Regions from separate parts of the Homo sapiens genome. Here region 2 is linked to region 1. The links are contacts of gene promoters, found by promoter capture Hi-C in human tissues and cell types (Jung and others, 2019). All regions are on one chromosome and are shown on one strand. The core of a region is centred on a gene start or on the middle of the fragment in contact, and the rest is flanking DNA. Distances in the headings are between cores, read along the strand shown.

Region 1 (5,171 bases), core at 256-2,755:
GCTGTGATTGGACAAGAGACTGATTTCAGTGACTTTCTCCTAATAAGAGACCACCGACCAGCTGACCATGCCGACCAGCTGACCCGTTAATAGAGAGAGATGATGCACCTGCATGCCTTTGTGTCCTGAAAAGACGTTTTGCCATAAAGGCCCTAATTGTAAGATGTGTAAATGTTAAGTCTCCACCCCAAAGTGAACATGGGTCATATATTACATGCTTTGCTCAATAAGAGGGCATGTGTCAGGACCACCTTCATGAATATTCATAGCTCCTCCTGTTACCTGTTGAATATGTATGTTTAGCCAATCCCTTCAGCATAGCGCTCCTGCCCCAACCCCTCCTCCTTGGACGTGCCTGTCTCTGGCCTTGGCTGGAGACAGATTCCCAGCCTCAGACAGATGGCCGCCACCTTGCAGGCTACGACCGTTTACAAGAAATAAAGCCTTCTCTTTTTCCAAATTTGTGAATTGTGTGTTTTTAAACTAACATGAATGACAGAAGGAAGGATGGCCTCTTCAAGCAACGATGATGAGGCAGTTATTTATATGGGGGAAAAATGGATTCTACCGTGGGTGGACTAAAGAGGAAATGTGAAAAAATAAAAAGTGAGAAACCGCTGGTAGTGAATCGGTGCAAGCGCCCTGGAGAAGAGACTTGGCAATATTTAGTAAAGTCAAACAGCACGAACCCTACTACTCTGCAAAGCTGCTGCAGGAACTGGCGGAACGAGGTCACGAAGGAAACCTTGCCGGAAAGGAAATTGCAGCAGTGCCTGTGTGCGTGCGTCTGTTGGCAAAACGCTGCTAATAACGTCAATGCCCATCCGCTATTGAATAAACCTGCTTTACTGCCACTATGGAATACCAAACTGCAGAAAAATAATTAAAAGAACGTATCTCATATTACAGGGGAAAAAATCAAGTTGCAGAAGCACATTCAAGTGCAGTTCCTGTAGTTTCAGAAAAGGCAAACAGTGCGCTACCTGAGCTACTTACACACGTGGTACAGGAGTGAAAGGGGCAGGAGAGGGTTCCCAAGAATTCAGCGCCATCCGCCCAGGGTGGCGGGATTCCCAGCACGGAGAATCGATTGCTATCGTCTGCTGTCCCGCGGGCACGATGGAGCGCTCCTACCGTACTCTCCACTTTTGGTGTATTTGGAACGTTTCATGCCGTATTAAAATAAAACATGGCTAAGCTGGATGTGGGGTGGCGGTGTGGGATAAAATAGAGGGGTGCTGCAGCTGGGCGGTGAGCCCCCTGCACCTGTGCACCTGAACGGGTTTGCCCGCAAGGGCCGGGCCGGGGCCGGGGCCTGGGACGTGGGTGGAGCCGGGGCGGGGGCGGGGCCCTTCGCGGTGCCGTGAACGCTGAGGCCACCTCGCTGCGCAGGCGCGGTCGTGAGCTCCTCAGACGGGGCGGGGCGATCCGTAGGCAGGGCCTGACGCCGCAGTCCTCCTTGGCCGGAGCCTCAACGGATGGGCGGGGAGGGGGCGGGGCCGGGCAACCCGGAAGGTCCGGCGTCCCAGCCGCCTACCTCGCTGGGACCCTGGTCTTGCTGTCCCCCGCTGGCCTCCTGCCCAAGCGACTGCGGCCAGGATGGGCCGGAAGGTGACCGTGGCCACCTGCGCACTCAACCAGTGGGCCCTGGACTTCGAGGGCAATTTGCAAAGAATTTTAAAGAGTGAGTCTGGGGCGGCGGGGGCACCGGTTTGGGGTGGCGCACGGGCACCGTGGCTGGGCCCAGGCTTGCCCGTGGCGTGCTCACAGCCTTGCCCTGGGAAACTCTCGGCCCTGGGCATGGGATCAGGTGAGATAATGGGCAATGACCCCGCCAGTGGTACGTGCTCAGGTCCTCGTCGGGAAGTGAGTGTTTATAGTTCCCGGGGACGAGCGATATACAAGGCACGGTTAAGAAAAGTCTGGCGGCTTAGGCGGGAGGCCTGGGGATGGACCCGTGTTCTGATATCTCTGGGGTCCCGTGGTTGGGACTGAGCTGCCCATTCTCGGAGATATCTAAGTTGAACAGAATGGCTGCGCACTGGCGGGGATGGTGTGCAGAGGCCAGAGATTGATGGTCTCTGGTCCCCGTGGGCCTTCCTGGTGGGAGAAGGCGTCCCAGAAAGGGAAGTAGAAAAAGACGCCTGTCATCCCAGCATTTTGGGGGGGCCGGAGGGGGTGGAAGTCACCTGAGGTCAGGAGTTCAAGACCAGCCTGGCCATCATGGTGAAACACCGTCTCTACTAAAAATACAAAAATCAGCCGGGCGTGGTGGCCTCGAAGATAGGGTGTGGTTGTTGAAAGGTCACCATCTAATTTTCGTTCATATGGACGCACCGTGGAGGATGAAAAGTTAAACTATTACACCTGCACCTAAATGGGCAAGCCTGCAGGTGTAGTCAGGTTGCAGCTTGTCTTGCACTGGTCTGCTGACTGCAAGAGCCTTTGCCAGGAACAATAGAAACAGAATGTTTCAAGAGATGGCATCTAATCAGTATGTGCCCTGGATTATTATTATGATTATTATTATTTGACATGGACTGTCACTCTGTTGCCCTGGCTGGAGTGCAGTGGTGTCATCTTGGCTCACTGCAGTCTCTGCCTCCTGGGCTCAAGCGATTCTCCTGCCTCAGCCTCCTGAGTAGCTGGGATTACAGGCGTCTGCCACCATGCATGGCCAATTTCTGTATTTTTAGTAGAGACAAGGTTTCACCATGGTGGCCATGCTGGCCTCGAACTCCTGACCTCAAGTGATCCACCTGCCTTGGCCTCCCAAAGTGCTGGGATTCCAGGCATGAGCCACCGCAGCCAGTGGTTTTTTATTTTTATTTTTTAAATATCAACCTGCTTTCACCTCATTTGCTCAGAGCAAATCTAGTTGAACTGAAGAAGGCTTGGCCAAAACTAAGTTTCCACTCTGCCAGCCTCTCCTCCCTAGGTGCTTGTTGGAAGCTGCTGCCCAAGACCAGTAAGCCGATGGTGCCTGACAGTGGCACCACTGCTGGATCGTAATCCTCTAAGTCCTTTTTCCTCTAGATGGTGTTGGGCATTTCCTTGTTAATAAACTACCAGGGTCTGACTTCTTCCTCTTCCTCCGCCTCCTCCATGGTGCTAAGGGTCAGACCTGCAAGCCCTCCCTGTTTCTCATTTCCTGCAGATATAAGCAGGTATATGCAAGTATAAGCAGGTGCAGGCGTACTCGTGTATACAGGTGTATACAGGTGTATGCTGCCCTCTGCTGCCATGCTGTCAACAGGAAGCCTGACTGCATCCCGTCTGGGAAGGCACAGAGCATTTTTGTTTGTTGTTTGTTTTTTTTTTTATCCTACCTACTGCAGCAGGTTGTTTCATCTGTCTTTGAGTGTATAGGTGCTGAAATTGCTCCATTTTCTTTTTCTCTCTGTACTTACAGGTATTGAAATTGCCAAAAACAGAGGAGCAAGATACAGGCTTGGACCAGAGCTGGAAATATGGTGAGAACAGACACAGACACCCTGGGGTCGTCAGCTAGCGATACCAGCATCAGTTTTCCCCAGCTGAGAAGGCAAGGAAGGAGCAGGGACAGTCCTGAGAGCTGTGGACACGCCACACCCACTGTTGGGCCTGGTTAATGCCATTGAACACCTGAGCAAGGGCAGGCCCAGGGAGGCTGAATAAGTCTAGATTCCCATGTTGAGTAATTAAAAGAACTGACTTTTACCAGATGAAGGCCAGTTTCAAAGTTGGGCTGCTTCTGTGTTACCACTGCCCTTTTGCTGTGGTCTGAATGTTTGCGTCCCCACAAAATTCATATGTTGAAACCTAACCCCCAGATGATGGAATTAAGAGATGAGGCCTTTGGCAGGTGATTGGGTCATGAGGGCATGAGAGTGGAGCCTGCATGAATGGGATTAGTGCTCTTACAAGAGAGGCCCAAAGGAGCTTGTTGGCCCCTTCTACCATGTGAGGACACAGAGAAGGAGACAACCAGTCCTTACCAGATACCAAATCTGCCAGCACCTTGATCGTGGGCTTCCCAGCCTCCAGAACTGTGAGCAATACATTTCTGCTGTTTATTAATTACCCAGTCCAAGGTGTTTTGTTATAGCAGGCTGAAGGACCAAGACATATTCCCAGGTTTTCATTCCGTGATCTCAGAATCTTTCCACAAGCAAGCATAGGTTATCGTTTCTTATATGCCTTTTTGTAAAAATCAGGAAAACTGATTGCTTATTTCCCTTCTTGTCCCTTCAAAAACAAAAACAAAAATGAAAACAAAACAATGAGTAGCCACGTTGTAAGTCTCTTGTAAGCGATAGTCCTTTCTCATTTTGGATGTCAGCTGCCATCTGTGCTCTGCTAGTTTCCCGTTGGTCTTTAGGCCTCTGACCCGTTGTGGGATCTGGAAGTTCCTCTTCAGTCTTTGTCCCCTGCCTTAGTGTGTGTTCTTGCTTCTGGACTTAGAGTAAGCAGGAACTGTCTTCTCTTAGGAGGTTTTGTGTGAGTCCAGAGGCATCTTTCTCTAAGTCCTTCCAAGTTTCTTTCCTTCATTAGATTGATTTCTCTCCTTAGAATACCACCTTCAAATAGGGCTGTTTCTCCCATAATATCCAAGAATGTTTACTTTGTTCTTTAATTTGTCTTCATTTGATTGATTCTTTAAGAAATTCTTCACCTAAGTGCCAAGGGATCTAGGGTTCTGGGCTGTCTGATATCACAAAGCTTCGATCCTCTCCTGGCCCCGTGGCCGGATCTTCTCCTGGGCTGGACTCAAGGCCTGATCGTCTCGTGAGCCTGACCTCTCCTGGGCTGGTCCGGGGGCCTGATCCTCATGTCCTGTCTGCTGCTTGCCCTGGAGGAGCTGCAGTGGTGACAGCCCAGTCCCCCTGGCCTGATGTTGCCCAGATGCTTAGAGTTTACGTCTTCTTTTCTTTCTTCGTCCTAGTCTCTCTCTCCTATAAATGTTACATCCACCTCTCTCTTTCCTCCAAATATGGACCTGTTTCATTTTAAAAGTGGGAGGATGTCTAACTAAAGGCCCCCGGGATGGAATATTTGCATCCAGCAGGGACAGGGGCCCAGCTGAGCAGGTCTCCAAGTAGCTTACAACCTGCTGAGCAGGCTCCTGTGAAATATTCCAACAACTTACAGAGAGGAAACCGAGGCAGGAGAGGAGGGACATCACTTCACTG
Region 2 (4,724 bases), core at 1,761-4,260, 320 kb before region 1:
ACGTCATTCATTACAAAGAAGCGCATTTCACATTCAGAATTTCCTCTGCAGCTACGGTTTCTGTCATCATCAAGTTCTGCATGATGCATTTTTAAGGACCCGTCATAAACACAAGCTTGGCAGGGGCCACGGAAAGGTGCGCGCAGGCGTCTTCGGGTCTTTGATAGCTGTTCACGTGCAATCCGTGTACTTGCACACCTCCAACAAATAACCAACATCAAGGTCACCCCAAACTACAATTGGTTTATTCCCAAATGCAATTATCCAAATGAAATAATACTTCTTACTGCGGACAGAGGCCCATTGGGCTGGTGCTCGTGGTGGCAAACACTAAAACCCCGGCACGGGTAACACACGAAGCTGAAATCAGACATGTCAATGGAACAGGGAAATGTGGGGTGACCTCGACTCAGAAGGACAGCCTAGTCGGGGGGTGCTGAGGTCCAAGAGTCAGGCTTAGTGCTTCTGCATGTTTAAACGCCAATAAAGGGTAACGGAGCTGTGGATTCGTTTTTCCAATCAGAACATTTTTCGCACAGTGAAAGCTTCATGGCAGCCGCTGGATGCTGTGGCGAAGCGGTGGGCAGACTGTATCTCCAGGCGATTAGTAAGAGGCTGCCTGTCTGTCTCTGCTATTGTCAAGGTGATGCTAAACTGGGAGACACTGCTTGGTTCTGCCAGTGGTCCATGGACTCCTTGGGGGTGACTTAATCTTCCTCTTTTCATAGCCATGATTTCAGGCAGAGCCATTGTAAAGCAGAGATCAGATGCTGGCCAGAGAAGTCCCTTTAGAAGCAATAAATTGAAGTGAAGTAAGTCAGCCATGGAAGGGGGGTTATAATTAAAAAGTCCTGACTGCAGACACAAAACACTTACTATGTGCCCATAGCCTGGCTCGTAAGCATGTTAAACACATCATCTCTTCCTTATGTTCTCCGGGAGGCCGCATTAGCACCCCCAGGCCCAAAGAGGAATGCTCCAAAAATGCCAGATCATTCCCAGAGCCACACAGCTGCAAGAGGAGGAGCAGGGATTAAGGGGGTCCCCGAGGCCGAGCTAATGAGTCCAACTCGATCCTGGCAGCACACAGACGGAGCCATGAGTCAGGAAGATTAAGCCAGCAGGAGGTCAGAAAGTGGATTAGCGACGAGGCCACAGAGGCAGGTGAGGCTGCTGCCGGGACGCAGATGCTGCTCAGAAGCTGTGGTGTGGGAGGCCTTGTCCGCCCAGAAGGGAGAGCAGCGAGGGAAGGGTGGAGGCTGGCGGGGAGGCAGAGTCGGAGCCAGGCTGGAGGAATCGCCCAGGTCCAACCTCAGAGCAAAGATGCTGGAAAAAAGCCTCACCCTTGGATTTAACACAGAAAAGTAAAAACTGATGATCTGCGGCCCTGGTATTGCCACCCTCTGGATAAGCCTTACCAGCTTGGGATGCCAGCAAAGAGGGGACGGCTGCTCCTCACCAGCATGGCCCCAAACCACAATACTCCCCCTACACTGTGGGATTTACAGAGCTTTGCTACAGAACTTGTAGTAATTCCAGACCAAAGTCACTTTTCCCGTACATTGTTTTCTCCATGAGATTTAAGTAGGCATTAACTCTAAGCCAACGATGAAGAGCACCTCAAGTCAAGACGTTTTATGTGCAGGCTACGGAGACCCTGCAAACTGGGCCAATCTCTCCCATATACAAAGCACGAACCCAATACGTAACAGAGGAAGGGTCCACATATAATCCTTACAATATTTGCTTTAAATGACGTGTAAGAAAACAAAGTCCTTCTCTGCCTTTATCGAGGATGCCCTGTGACGTGAATAATAACCAATATGATCAAGGCTTGACTTTCCATGGCAACTTTCATTGGAAGGCCCCACAGCCTTCCCTTTTTTTCTAAACAATTTGTAACTCACCAGTTTCTTGACTAAAATAGTCAAGTGTAAACCACTCCTCTTAAGGACAGGTAGGCTAGTTTTCATTGTTGTATTACAGAGACAGTGGAGGCAGAGGGAAGGCTGAGGGGCTGGGGAGCAGCACTCTCTTTGGTCTTAGCAACCAGTTAATGAAACCACAATCAGATTCCATGCCTTCTACCTCCCCAAGAGGTAATCCAAATGCATACTACAAAGGACATGGCGGGGCTACTCAAAGTGGAGACCAAAGATCCTAACCATGTATTTCTATAATCAAGAGAATGGATAGATGGGTGAATGAGTGGATGGAGGGAGGGAGGGAGGGGTGAGGTGGGTAGGAGGATGAGTGGATGCATGGATGGGTGGCTGGGTAGGTGGGTGGCTGGGTGGATGCACAGATGAATGGATGGATGGATGGATGGATGGATGGATGGATGGATGGATGGCCGGCCGGACGGCTGGCTGGCTGGCTGGCTGGCTGGCTGGGTAGGTGGGTGGCTGGGAGGATGCATGGCTGGCTGGCTGGCTGGCTGGGTAGGTGGGTGGCTGGGTGGATGCACAGATGGAGGGAAGGATGGATGGACAGATGGAGGGAGGGAGGGAGGGACGGACGGACAGACGGAGGGAGGGAGGGAGAGAGAGACAGAGGGATGGACGGACGGATGGATGGCAGGCAGACAGGCAGGCAGGCTGGCTGGCTGGATGGATAGATAGACGGATGAGTGAGTGGAGGGGGGATGTGGATGGATTGGAGGGTCAGGGGATGGGTGGGTAGGTGGGTGGAAGCGTAGAGTGGAGGGGTGGTCTAGGGGGCCTCCCTGGTTAGGCTGGAGTCAGTGTTGGGCCACACTCCATGGACTCAAAGTTTTTGAATAAAGACCATTATCATGTTACCATCTTCTGCCCAAGTCCTTTTTGATGACTTTTCTTTTAGGGCAGAAAATGTGCTCATGTCAAGGCAACATATACCTAAACTTCTAATTAAGTCTATAATCCCAGAAGAATTTCATTTAGCTAACAAGCAACTGGGAGAGAACATTCTGGAACAAAACATCTGAAACTGAAAGGGCAGCCCAAAGGAAAACTATGTATTTTTTTTTTTTTTTTAGGGAAGGGGTCTCATTACGTTGCCCAGGTGATCCCCCTGCCTGAGCCTTCTGAGTAGCTGGGATTACAGTTGTGCACCACTGCACCCGGCTACATTCGTGGATAAAAGAGCTTTTACCTTTCTCGGTGGACTGGGTGACTTGACAGTGCAGAAAGCTCCTCCGTGGCAGGAGGCCCGGAGTGGGCACTGGACACAGCACAGGTGGGAGGGGAGGGGCTCATCTCCAGCAGGAGAGGCAAAGAACTGAGACAAGGCTTCCCTCTCAGTCCACGTGCGGTGCCACCCCATCACTGACGATGGCCAGAGCAGGCATCTGGGGAGGGGAGAGGGGGAAAGGGGAAGTGACTGCCAACAGGGGTGGGGTTTCCTCTTGGGGGGATGGAAGCTTCCTGAGATTCACAGTGGTGATGGGCTCACTCATCCGTGAATTTCCTAAAATCCAACGACTTGCACACTTCCAATGGGTGAATTATATGGCATGTATATTACATCTCAATTTTTTTTTTTTTTTTTTGAGACGGAGTCTTGCTCTGTCGCCCAGGCTGGAGTACAGTGGCACGATCTCGGCTCACTGCAACCTCCACCTCCCAGGTTCAAGCAATTCTCCTGCCTCAGCCTCCTGAGTAGCTGGGATTATAGGCGTGCATCACCACACCTGGCTAATTTTTGTATCTTTAGTAGAGATGGAGTTTCACCATGTTGGCCAGGCTGGTCACAAACTCTTGACCTCAAATACTCCACCCGCCTCGGCCTCCCAAAGTGCTGGGATTACAGGCATGAGCTGAGAAACTGCAAAGACGCAGGCCTCACATCTTAAACCCTCTCTCCAGGACAGCCCCACTGGCTTTGTCATAGGGAAGCGTCTGTGGGTCTCCAGCTTTCCCTGCACTTCCCAGGGTCCCAGCCTCCAGCACCATTTACCTGGAGCCCCCATCTCTTCTAATCCTTCTCCTCTCACCAGAGAGGCCAAGATTACCCTTTTCAAATATAAACGATGTCACATGCTCTGTACCAAACCTCTGCCCATCAAATACAACCATGGCCTCCTTGTCATGACCCTATACCTGGACGCCCACCGCCCACCTCTGCTGCCTCACACACACTGCTCCCGCAGCCCTCAGCCTTCTCTGCTGAGCCAACACACCAAGTTTGTGCATACCTCAGGCTGGCTGTCCCTGAAGACCCTCACCCTAGAAGATTCCAAGCAAAGACCCTCTCCCATCCTCTGAGGCTCTGTACAGCCATTGGCGCCTCACCCCACAGAGGCAAGGGTTTAAATGAATTCACTCACTCCATAGCCAGATACCCAGCATTCACTCGGTTGTACCGGCTGATGGGGTACAAGGATGAGCAGAGCCTGCACTAGGTGTCCTTGTGGAGCGGAATTGCTGCCCAGCTGCCCCCCAGGCGCTTAGCTGTGAAATCCCCCTGTAAACAAAGAGACCGAGGAGAAGCCATGGAGCCATGGAATCCTCAGGAAAAAGAATCCACTGACTTGCACACTTCCAATAGGTGTGTGCCCAGACTAGGGGGGATATGTTTTTTTTTTTTTTTTTTTTTGAGATGGAGTCTCACTTTTGTCACCCAGGCTGGAGTGCAATGGCACAATCTCAGCTCACTGCAACCTCCACCTCCCAGGTTCAAGCAATTCTCGTGCCTCAGCCACCACACCCAGGTAATGTTTGTATTTTCAGTAAAGATGGGGTTTC

What was found. The method cuts DNA at HindIII sites, captures the fragments that hold promoters and counts their contacts. A contact is called where the count stands out against the background at its distance.
Region 2: a fragment that was not itself captured here is called in contact with the fragment with the promoter of NADSYN1 in region 1 in 1 of the 25 tissues and cell types used here (H1 embryonic stem cells).

What each region holds. Positions count from the first base shown.
Region 1 is chr11:71,451,698-71,456,868 of GRCh38, forward strand. It overlaps NADSYN1 (NAD synthetase 1), which reads left to right and starts at 1,506. Exons shown (of 21, transcript NM_018161.5): 1 at 1,506-1,684; 2 at 3,413-3,473. The coding sequence starts at 1,600. DHCR7-DT (DHCR7 divergent transcript) reads left to right here. Exons shown (of 2, transcript NR_186309.1): 2 at 1-460. RefSeq lists enhancers at 175-224, 345-424, 1,662-2,163, 2,164-2,663 and a silencer at 1,235-1,604. The HindIII fragment of the contact is 4,997 bases long and covers 13-5,009 here.
Region 2 is chr11:71,130,929-71,135,652 of GRCh38, forward strand. The region is part of intron 3 of SHANK2 (SH3 and multiple ankyrin repeat domains 2); the gene reads right to left. Among named protein-coding and RNA genes, the nearest start is that of SHANK2, 120 kb to the right of the region's middle. The HindIII fragment of the contact is 6,307 bases long and covers 1-4,724 here.